Linked DNA regions of Homo sapiens: all the other regions are linked to region 1. Evidence: promoter capture Hi-C in human tissues and cell types (Jung and others, 2019). All regions are on one chromosome and are shown on one strand. Each heading gives the region's core, a stretch centred on a gene start or on the middle of the fragment in contact. The rest is flanking DNA. Distances are from core to core; before and after follow the strand shown. Region 1 holds the start of LRP12 (LDL receptor related protein 12). Region 2 overlaps LRP12 (LDL receptor related protein 12). Region 3 has its middle 60 kb from the start of LRP12.

Region 1 (3,589 bases), core at 1,031-3,530:
ACTCTTCTTAACTTTTTGTGTTTGTTTTGGAAAGCAGAGTTATGTAAACTTGTAATGCATGTTTTATTTTAAATGAATTTAAAATAAATTCTTTTTTTTCTATTTTAATTTCTAAATGCTAAATATCAATAGCTATGACCCACATAAATAAAAGTTCTTTGGTGTCCTCACCAAATTGTAAGTGTTATGGGGGGTCCAGATACCCAAAAGTTTGATAACCTGGCAAGTCTGAGAAGACACATCTGGGTGGATGAGCAAGTGTAGGGGTGGGAGGGGTGTGACAGGAACTGATGAGGGCACTGTGTGTCTCGTGTTCGGGACAGGATTCCTTGAATGGTACTAAAAGTGGACAGGGGAGGATGCAGTCCAGTCTACTCCTTCACTCTGCTTGTGGCCTGTTCTTAACACAGCTCTCATGGAAGCGCAATTTAGAGAAAGCAATCTTAAGAAACAAGAAAGTAGAGTTTAGAATCCCAAAATTAGGAAAGACAACTGCAATTTGTTTAGTGAAAAACACTGAAGTTGCTTCTTTCCAACAAGAATGGAAAACATTTTTGGAGTGCTGGTTGCTTTTTTTACCAGATGATATAAGATTTGTTAATTATTAGATTTTTGTAATACTTATTAATACATTTTTCTCTTATCTTTTGGAATAGCATTTCCTGGTTTTAAAAAAAAAAACTTAAAAGGGGGCAAATCGGCAGGAGACTGAGGAAAAGCCTAAATGTATTCCCCAGAAAGTATGTTTTAAATTTTAACATTTACTTACTGAGAGGTGAGGCCAGCTGAACTTCCTGGGTCCAGTGGGGACTTGAGGAACTTTCCTGTCTTACAAGAGGATTGTAAAATGCACCAATCAGCGCTCTGTAAAATGCACCAATCAGCACTCTGTAAAACGCACCAATCAGCAGGATTCCAAAAGTAGCCAATCGCAGGGAGGATTGAAAGAGGGGCACTCCGATAGGACAGAAATGGAACATGGGAGGGGACCACAAGGGAATAAAAGCTGGCCACCACCAGCCAGCACCTGGGGTTCTCTTCCATGCTGTGGAAGCTGTCCTTTTGCTCTTCGCAATAAACCTTGCTACCGCTCACTCTTTGAGTCCGTGCCATCTTTAAGAGCTGTTAACAGTCACCGGGAAGGTCTGCAGCTTCATTCTTGAAGTCAGGGAGACCACGAACCCCCTGGCAGGCACCAACTCCGACACATTACTAGGCGCTAAGCATTGTGCTAGAGAGTTTGCTGTGGTATAGGGGCAACAATCTTTACTTTGGAATGAGAAAAACTGTTTCAAACAACTTACTTGCCATGAGTAATTTAATTTCTCTCTTTTCTATAAAACATGGGTAATATTTATCTCACAAGGATGTTTGGGATTAAAAAGTGACAACCTATGTCAATAGGACAGCATGATGCAGTGTAGGTCTTCAATGAATAGCATGGAGAGTGCTTGCAAAGGGCAACGATAAAATCTAATATAAATAAGACGTTGTAGACAAACGCTTTAAAAACACAGGGGGTAAGGTCTGATGTGCCAGCGTCACTACAGACGTACTTAGAAAAGTGTTCTGGGGATCTAAGTAAAGGAGGACTCCCATTTGCTGGGAGTGAGAAAAGAGCTTTAGGGAAACTGCAGCGTGATGGGCGAATCCTCCTTTCAATATATCTACCCTGAAAGTCGGCTCCAGCCCTGCCGAACATCCTGGCCCAGCTGCACCCGACCCAGCGTGAGATGTCAAATGACCTCTTGGCGCTTCCACGCCAGACTGGAGGGGCTCTGCACAAGCCTTGCCCGACTCATTCCGGGCACCTTGAGCGTGGGAGTCCACACTGCCCCTTGACCGACCAGCTGCCAGGTTGGCCGCACTAACTTGAGCCCACCCCCACTCGAAGCTCCGCGCCGACAGCAAGTGGAGACTTGGGGGTACCGGATAGAGGAAGGAACTCCCAAGTTGTCAGCTTCAGACCATCCACGCCTCCCCCAACACGGAACCACCTTCAGCCTCCCAGCTGGTATCCCACCCCCCCTCCCCCCACCCGCTGGGCCAGAGCCCAGCCCTCGGACAGCGACCGTGCTCCTCCACACACCCCGCGCTCCAGCCCCTGGGCATCCAGCAGCCGGCGTTCGCACGCTCTGTCATCGATTGGCGCTGCCTTGCTCCTTGGGCTCCCGTCGCGTGGAAATCGGCCCGAAACTTGGAAAGTCCAGCGGAGCGCGGGGAGGGAACCGAGGCAGGCGGGCCAGGGGATTGCCGATCGCACGGATGGGCGCGCGCTCAGTCTGGCGAGTGGCGGCGCCGGCTAGCCCGAGCGGCGCGAGGCCGGAGTCCGGCGTCCGCCACCCTCTCGTCTCGCGCTGGCGCGCGAGCTCCTTGCCCTTGCCCCCAGGAGGGCCGCCCCGCGTGGGGCTCTCGCACCGCCCGGGGTGGGAGCAGGCGAGCCGGAGGGAGGAGGGAGGAGGGAGCGCGCGCGGGCGGCGGCGGCCCCTCCCTTCCCCCTCCCGCAGCCGCGGAGAGCGCAGGGAGCAGCCGGTGGCTCGGCGGCGGCGGCGGCGGCGGCGGCGGCGTCGGCGTCGTCTACCTCCAGCTTCTCCTCCCTCCTCCTCCGTCTCCTCCTCTCTCTCTCCATCTGCTGTGGTTATGGCCTGTCGCTGGAGCACAAAAGAGTCTCCGCGGTGGAGGTCTGCGTTGCTCTTGCTTTTCCTCGCTGGGGTGTACGGTAAGTGTCCGCGTCCCCGCGCCCCGCTGACCGAACAAAGCTGAGGCGACCCGGGCCCCGAGGCCTCCAGGACGGGGGTTCCCCTGGAGACTCCCGCGGAGACCCTGGCTACCGGCGGGACAAAGACCGGTGAGGGGGTGGATGTGGCGGAACGGGTGTCCCCACACGGAGATGCTTTTCTCCACTCGTCCACCTCCAGACCCTCGGGTGGTGGAGAGGGGCTGGGGGGCCCGGCCGGGAGGGCCCCGGCGGAGCGAGGGGGTGGCGGGCGGACTTCCCGACCTGGGTTCGAGGGCCCCCGCGGCCAGTTGCTCCAGGACCCGTAGCCTGGCACAATCCACACACAAAGATGCTTGACTGTGAGAAAGCAGAGGAGCTCGCCCCCGCCGCTGCCGGGACGGTCCTTCCCCCCGCCCCCTCAACCCGGGGTTAGGAAGTTCTCTCACCGGCGAGATTCCCACCGCGCCAGCCCTTGTCCTACTCGATTCCCTGAAAAGGCTTCCCGCTGACTTCTCCCCACTCCACCTCGGGGGCAAGGGCTCTGCCGAATCCGGGCGTGCAGGGTCCTGTTGGTTCCCCGGGAGCAGCACGCGGGAGAAGGCCAGAAAATAGTTTCCAGCCCCACCTCAGTCTCTCCTGTTAGGGTGTACACATCTGTCCTGACTCCTAGTTCAATTGTAATTTCATCCATCCTCGTCCGCCGCTGTGGTCACTGTTACTTTATTCCAGTCGATGGATCGGGTTAGAGATAACTCCTTTCGGGTTAAGAGAAGGCTGAAGACTGTGCGGACAGCTTTATATTGCGTTGGGGTCTGAGCAAGAGCTGAATGGAATTAATTGCAAAGAACATCTATCTCTTAAGATAATTAA
Region 2 (3,345 bases), core at 388-2,887, 35 kb after region 1:
ATATTTAGGATTGTGATATTTTCCTTTGGACTAGTCCTTTTATCATTATATAATGTCCCTCTTTGTGTTTTTATTTATTTATTTCTTTTTTACTGTTGTTGCTTTCAAGTTTATGTTGTCTGATATAAGAATAGCCATTTCTGCTCACTTTTGGTCTCCATTTGCATGGAATATCTTTGTGAGTGTTTATGTTTCAGATGAGTCTCTTGCAGACAGCAGATACGTGGTTGGCGAATTCTTATCTATTCTGGCATTTTATGTCTTCTAAGTGGAGGATTTAGGCCATTTACCTTCGATGTTGGTATTGAAATGCGAGGTACTATTCTTTTCATCATGCTATTTGTTGCCTGAATACCTTGTTTGTTTTCATTGTGTTATTTTTCATTGTGTTATTTCATTGTGTTTCATTGTGATATTTCATTGTGTTTTATAGGTCCTTTGAGATGTATGGTTTAAGGAGGTTTTATTTTGGTATATTTCAAGGATTGGTTTCAAGATTTAGAGCTCCTTTTAACAGTTCTTGTAGTGTTCACTTGGTAGTGGCAAATTCTCTCAGCATTTGTTTATCTAAAAAAGGCTGTATCTTTCATTTATGAAGCTTAGTTTTGCTGGATACAGAATTCTTGGCTGATAGTTGTTTTGTTTAAGGAGGCTAAAGATAGGACCCCAATCCCTTCTAGCTTGTAAGGTTTCTGCTGAGAAATCTGCTGTTAATCTGATAGGTTTTACTTTATAGGTTACCTGATGCTTTTGCCTCACAGCCCTTAGAATTCTTTCCTTCATCTTGACTTTAGATAACCTGATGACTGTGTGCCTAGGTGATGATCTTTTTATGATGAATCACCTGAGTGTTCTTTGAGCTTTGTATTTCAACGTCTAGATCTCTAGCAAAGTCAGGGAAGTTTTCCTTGATTATTCCCTCAGATATGTTTTCCAAACTTTCAGATTTCTATTCTTCCTCAGGAACACCGATTATCCTTAGGTTTGGTCATTTAACATAATCCCAAATTTCTTGGAGTCTTTGTTCATTTTATTTTTAATTCTTTTTTCCTTGTTTATATCAGATTGGATTAATTTGAAAGCCTTGTCTTCAAGCTCTGAAGTTTTTTCTTCTACTTGTTCTGTTGTTTCAATTTTCCAATGTATTTTCCATTTCTCTAAGTGTGCCCTTCATCTCCAGAAGTTGTGATTGTTTTTTATTTATGCTATCTATTTATCTGGAGATTTTTCTGGCCATATCCTGTAACATTTAAAAAAAAAATCTTAAAGTTGGTATTCACCTTTCTCTGATGCCTCTTTGAGTAGCTTAATAATCGACCATCTGAATTCTTTTTCTGGCAAGTCAGAGATTTCTTCTTGGTTTGGATCCATTGCTGGTGAGCTAGTGTGATCTTTTGGGGGTGTTAAAGAACTTTGTTTTGTTATAGTGCCAGAATTTTTTTTCTGGTTCTTTCTAATTTGGATAGACTATGTCAGAGGGAAGATCTCGGGCTCAAGGGCTGCTGCTCAGAGTCATTTTTCCCATGGGTTGCTCCCTTGATGTGGTGTTCTCTCCCTTCCCGTAGTATTCCTGAGAGGTGAACTGCAGTGATTCTTGTTTCATTTGTGGGTCTAGCCACCCAGCAGAGCTACCAGGCTCTGGCCTGGTACTGGGGAGTGTCTGCAATAAGTCCTGAGATGTGATCCATCTTCAGGTCTCTCAGCTATGGATACCAGCATCTTTCCAGTGAACATAACATGGGAGTGAAGTGGACTCTGTGAGGGTCCTTGATTGTATTTTTGTTTAGTGCACTGGTTTTTTGTTTGTTGGCCTCCAGCCAGGAGGTGGCACTTTCAAGAGAGCATCAGCTGTGGTAGTGTAAGGAGGATACAAGCTTGCCCTAAGGTCACCTGGATAAGGTTTCTCAGGCAGTGGGTGGGACCACAGAGCTCCCAAGAGATTATGTCCTTTGTTTTTTGGCTACCAGGCAGGTAGAAAAAGATCATCAGGTGGGGGCAGGGTTAGGTGTGGCCGAGCTCAAACTCTCCTTGGGCAAGGCTTGCTGCAGCTGCTGTGGGGAATGAAGGTGTAGTTCTCAAGCCAATGGAGTTACGTACCCAGGAGGATTATGGCTGCCTCTGCTGTATCATACAGGTCGCCAGGGAAGTGGGGGAAAGCCAGCAATGACAGGCCTTACCCAGCTCCCATGCAGCCTGAAAGGCCGGTTTCACTCCCACCGTGCTTCTCCAACAGCACCAAGTTTATTTCCAGGCAGCCGGTGAGCAAGGCTGAGAACTTGGCCCAGTCTACAAACTTCCCTGCTGAGAAAGCAAGCAGGGCTTTCAGGTTTCATGCCTCTGCCCCTGCCAAGACTTCTGTGCATGTATCTGCACTCCCCATTTTCCCCCTCCCCCGGATTCTGTCCAGTAAACTTCACATTCAGTTGAAATTGTTACAAAGTTCAACTGGAAGTTTCCTTCTCCCTGTGGTTTTTTGCCAGTTTCACTGGCAGCCCTCCCCAAGGACCCCTGGAAGACAAAGTCAGAAATGGCTTCCCTGTGGACCTAGAGTGCCCACAGGGCTCTTCCCACTGCTTCCTGTACCCCTATATTTCACTCAGCTTTCTAAATTAATCTCAGCTCCAGGTAAGGTCAAGTTCTTTTCCCATGATCTGGACCAGTGAGGATGTGCATTTAGGGGCAAACGTTCCCCCCTCACACTTTGGGCACTCACAGTTTTTGGCTATCTCACAGAGCCTGCAGCAGCAAGCAGCTTCATTCAAAGGATCTGTGGATTCTCTAGGCTTTCTTGGTATGTTTCTGTGGTAGTTCTTGGAGCAAAAGTTCATGACATGGGTCTCCACACACTGCTCTGTCTGTCTGAGTGGGAGCTGCAAGTTAGTCCTGCCTCCTGTGCACCATTTTTTTTCTTACATTGGATAACTTTTATCAATTATGTGAAAAAGGATAATTCTCTGCTTCACATGTGATATTTCTGTAGAAAAATGCCAAGCTGACAGGTTAACTGGAAGATAGTACTTTAAGGTTCCATGAAAGAGTAGGTAAGCTATGAGATGACTTAAGTAGAAGTAAGTGAAAAGTTAGCTATTTGCTGAGAGAAAAAAAAAATTGTATTTTTAGTAGAGAAGGGGTTTCCCCATGTTGGTCAGGCTGGTCTCGAACTCCCAACCTCAGATGATCTGCCCGCCTCGGCCTCCCAAAGTGCTGGGATTACAGGCATGAACCACCACGCCCGGCAAAAAAAAAAAAACAACAAAAAAAAGACATATTTATACATTTATTAGATTGATGGGCTATAAGCTGTTAAGAACCCAGGAGTCACTGAAGATCAAAAATGGTAAATTT
Region 3 (3,786 bases), core at 659-3,158, 60 kb before region 1:
TCTTCTACAGATCATAAGTATTCCAACAATATTTATGGAATGAACAAATAACTCAGCGAGTAAATAAGTTTTTTTTAATAATAAGCTTACAGTTGAATCATTTAGCATTTACTCACAGATTCAAAAGAAAAAAGAAAAAAAGGAAAAGAATTGCTTTGATTGTAATAATGACAAAAGTTTCACTTCAGAAAACCATAACACTTTTTCCTTTTTGGTCATCTCAGTAAAAAGGCAAAAAAGAAAAAAGAGAAATATATAAAGAATAACTTCGTGCCATAGAAGAAGGATGGTGTTTATTTCCACTATGTTTGAAAGTTTCAAGTTTGGGGCGTATTCTAAAGAGACAGTCTAGTTCTTTCAATCATCTGCCTACATACATGATAGGTTTCATTTGATCATCTTTCATTTCTCATCAAGTTATGAAAGACAAATAGTTTGTACAGCCTTTTGACATAAACATTCTACTGAGTATAACAAAACTATATCCAGTGATGTGCCACTAAACATTTAATAACCAGTTAGGTATTGGGGGAAAATAAGTATGTACTGTGGCATTTGCCTATTCCTGTAGTGTAAATAGTACCAACATTGGGCCAGATGTGGTGTCTCATGCCTGTAATCCCAGCACTTTGGGAGGCTGAGGCAGGTGGATCGCTTGAGGTCAGGAGTTTGAGACCAGCCTGACCAACATGGTGAAACCCCGTCTCTACAAAAAAATACAAAAATTAGCTGGACATGGTGGTGCATGCCTATAATCCCAGCTACTCGAGAGGCTGAGGCAGGAGAACTGCTGGAACCCAGGAGGCAAATGTTGCAGTGAGCAGAGACCACACCACTGTACTCCAGCCTGGGCAACAGAGTGAGACTCAATCTGAAAAATAAATAAATGGCAATAAATAAATAAATACTACCAACATGGCCAATTCCAAGCTAATCATGTTTAATAACCAGCTTCCAAAATTCCTAAAAATTTAACAATTGGTTCTTACAAAACTCTATTAGCATCTCTAACATACCATTGGCTACATAATTTCACAAAAATATTTTTGTATTTTTTACATACATACACATACACACAGTTGTAGAGCATATAGAATAAGTTACCAATAGTAAAATTCACCTTCAAAATATATGCTCTGTGTACTATAATATGGAAGCAAAAAATTGTAGGTATAAAGAATGTATTCTTTCAGTTTACCGTGATGAAGTTTATTTTGTAATCGTTTGATTTCTTCATCCTATTTCCATTTAAGAGTCTGCCCCAAAGCTATTTCACAGCTTAAATCCCATCTGTTCCACTTTATTCTAAACTTTTAAGTAGTAAGATTGTAAGTGTTAAAGACCACAATAATACTTTCTTCCTAGTTACTAGGAACAACAGTAGCTTACCATTCTCCAATTTCCTCCCACTTACTGTCTGCCATAACTCATGCATTATGGAGCATATATGAGTATTTACTATGAGCCACTTACTGGGATGATAGGCTCTGGGGATTCAATAGACACAACCCCTAGCTTCAAGGAGCTCACAACCTGGAAAGGAGATGGACAAGGATAATTCCAGACAGAAAGTAACCACCTGGGGCCAAAAGAATACACAGAATGTGTGTATAACTCAGCACTCAGCCAGCATTGAAAAAGCCAACATTAATGGTTGAACTTGAAGAATGAGTAGGAATTGGCCATGAAAAGAAGGAGGGGGAAAGGCATTCCAGGGAGATGGAAGACCAAGTTCAAAATTATGCACAGGCAGCTACAGCCGTGATTGAAACAATCAAAGCACAGAGTGTAAGAGGAGGTTGGAGGAATCCTGAGGCTGCAAAGACAGGTGATGGGGCAGCTTCAGGGGCTCATAAAGATTCTGTTGTGTTATGCAAAGGAAATTGGGTTTTATACCAAAGACAATGCATCAGAAGCATTTAAGGCAAGTTGGTGAATGACAGGATTGCTGCTTTAGAAAAAGTATTCAGACACTGGATTGAAGTTGGGTGAGACAGAAGTGAGAGACCACATGTTGAACAATGAACTCAACTGAGTAATCAACTCTCCTTCCATCACAGTTTTCCCCTGAGTTCTCTATTCATCTTAATTCTCTGCAATTACCAAGTGACATCTTTTTATGTTGAAACAAAAATGGTTCCACTCTATTGTTTCCTTTGGTCCCTAAATATCTCTCTTAAGTTCACTTTCTCTAAAAATGGCACTCAACATGAGTCAGCATTTTGCATCACAAATTTAATGGAGAAAAAAGACATAGACTTAACAAAGTAAAAGGATCAAATGCCCAGAGCAAGTGTAAGTTTAACCAAGGGAATGTCATATCTATTGTGGTTATCTGTTGCTACATCACATACCACCCCAAATTTAGTGGCATAAAACTATAGCAATTGTCAGTATTATCTCTTCACAATTCAGAGGGTTGACCAGATTCAGCTACATGGTTCCAGTCTCTAGTGCCATTGAATTCAAAGGAGGATTGGTGTGGTGGCATCTCAAAGGACCTCTCACTCATATGCCTGGTGGTTGTTGCTGGTTATTTGTTGGGACCTCAGTGGGGGCTGTCTACCAGGCCTTGTTATGTGGTCTGGGCTTCCTCCAAGCAGTGCTGGGTTTCAAAGTCAGTATTCCCAGAAAAAAAGGCCTTTTCTACCCTAAACTGGTTATTCACATAGTGTCACTTCTGCCACATTCTGTTTTAGAAGTGAGTCACTATGGCCAGTCCATTCACAAAGGGAAGAGATTTAGAGTCCACTTCTTGATGGGAGATATGTCAAAGAATTTTCAGATGTCTTTTTAAAAACGATCACAATCACTTTCATGTTTTTGACCAATACAAGAGTTATCCATTTTCATTTTGGCACACCAGGCAGGAAGTGATGAAATATAACAATAACCAACAATATCCAGAATACACTGAAAAGGAGTAAAACCTCCCATATATGCTCTCTGATAAACACTCAGTTCTTAAGAGGCTGGACTGAAAAATAAATATGGAGACCAAAGCTGAGACCAGGTCATCAGGGTCCGTTTCAAAAAGCCAACATCTCAAGAGCAGTAAGAAAAGAATCTGTTCCCGTTGTATTATGGGATAAAGACTAATGCAATTTCCAAAGTGAGAAGAACCTGAAGACTGCTAGCAGAATCATTTTACTATGAGGTATATACATATGTATGGGAAGTTGTAAATAGTTGTCATTATAGACTACGGGTTGAATAATTACCAAAAAAGCATTTACACTTCCAAAAGTTGATAAAGAACATCTCTAGCTATTATGTATATAGATACCTGGATCCTAAAGTGGGCAAAACTAGGTAAAAAGCTTACCTGACAGAATTTTAACAACATTTATTTCTGTCCCAGTATGATACACTTTACACATCTACCATGTAAGATGAGATATATTTGAAATTCACACAGCTTCAGTAGGTTAGACCAATGTAATTTACAATACCTACAACACTCAACAGTTATTTTTTAAAATCCTGATTAGAAGAGAGAAACAATAAACACACTAGTTGTAAATACTTATAGAAAAGCTGAAGAGAGGCTGTTTCTTCTACCTGTTTTTAACAGTACTATTGGGACATGAGAAGAAAGCATTTTTATTCTCACACCTTTAAAGGTTGCCTAATTTCTCAGTCTATTCTTCAGCAGGGCTACTTGGGCTAACAGAATAGAATGAAAGGATAATCCCTAGATTTAGCAATACTTTGTAGCCCTATATTTATTACCTAGTAATGATCATTTTGACAGATAGTTCTCAAATTTAAAGCTCATAAGAATCA

The links. Contacts are between HindIII fragments. The study calls those that stand out against the background at their distance.
Region 2: a fragment that was not itself captured here is called in contact with the fragment with the promoter of LRP12 in region 1 in 2 of the 25 tissues and cell types used here (bladder and mesenchymal stem cells).
Region 3: a fragment that was not itself captured here is called in contact with the fragment with the promoter of LRP12 in region 1 in 2 of the 25 tissues and cell types used here (IMR-90 fibroblasts and aorta).

Annotation. Positions count from the first base shown.
Region 1 is chr8:104,587,949-104,591,537 of GRCh38, reverse strand. It overlaps LRP12 (LDL receptor related protein 12), which reads left to right and starts at 2,280. Exons shown (of 7, transcript NM_013437.5): 1 at 2,280-2,719. The coding sequence starts at 2,641. RefSeq lists silencers at 2,242-2,581, 3,012-3,121. The HindIII fragment of the contact is 16,882 bases long and covers 1-3,589 here.
Region 2 is chr8:104,552,281-104,555,625 of GRCh38, reverse strand. All of the region lies in intron 1 of LRP12 (LDL receptor related protein 12), which reads left to right. Among named protein-coding and RNA genes, the nearest start is that of LRP12, 35 kb to the left of the region's middle. The HindIII fragment of the contact is 3,481 bases long and covers 1-3,345 here.
Region 3 is chr8:104,647,511-104,651,296 of GRCh38, reverse strand. No RefSeq gene overlaps it. Among named protein-coding and RNA genes, the nearest start is that of LRP12, 60 kb to the right of the region's middle. The HindIII fragment of the contact is 5,083 bases long and covers 1-3,786 here.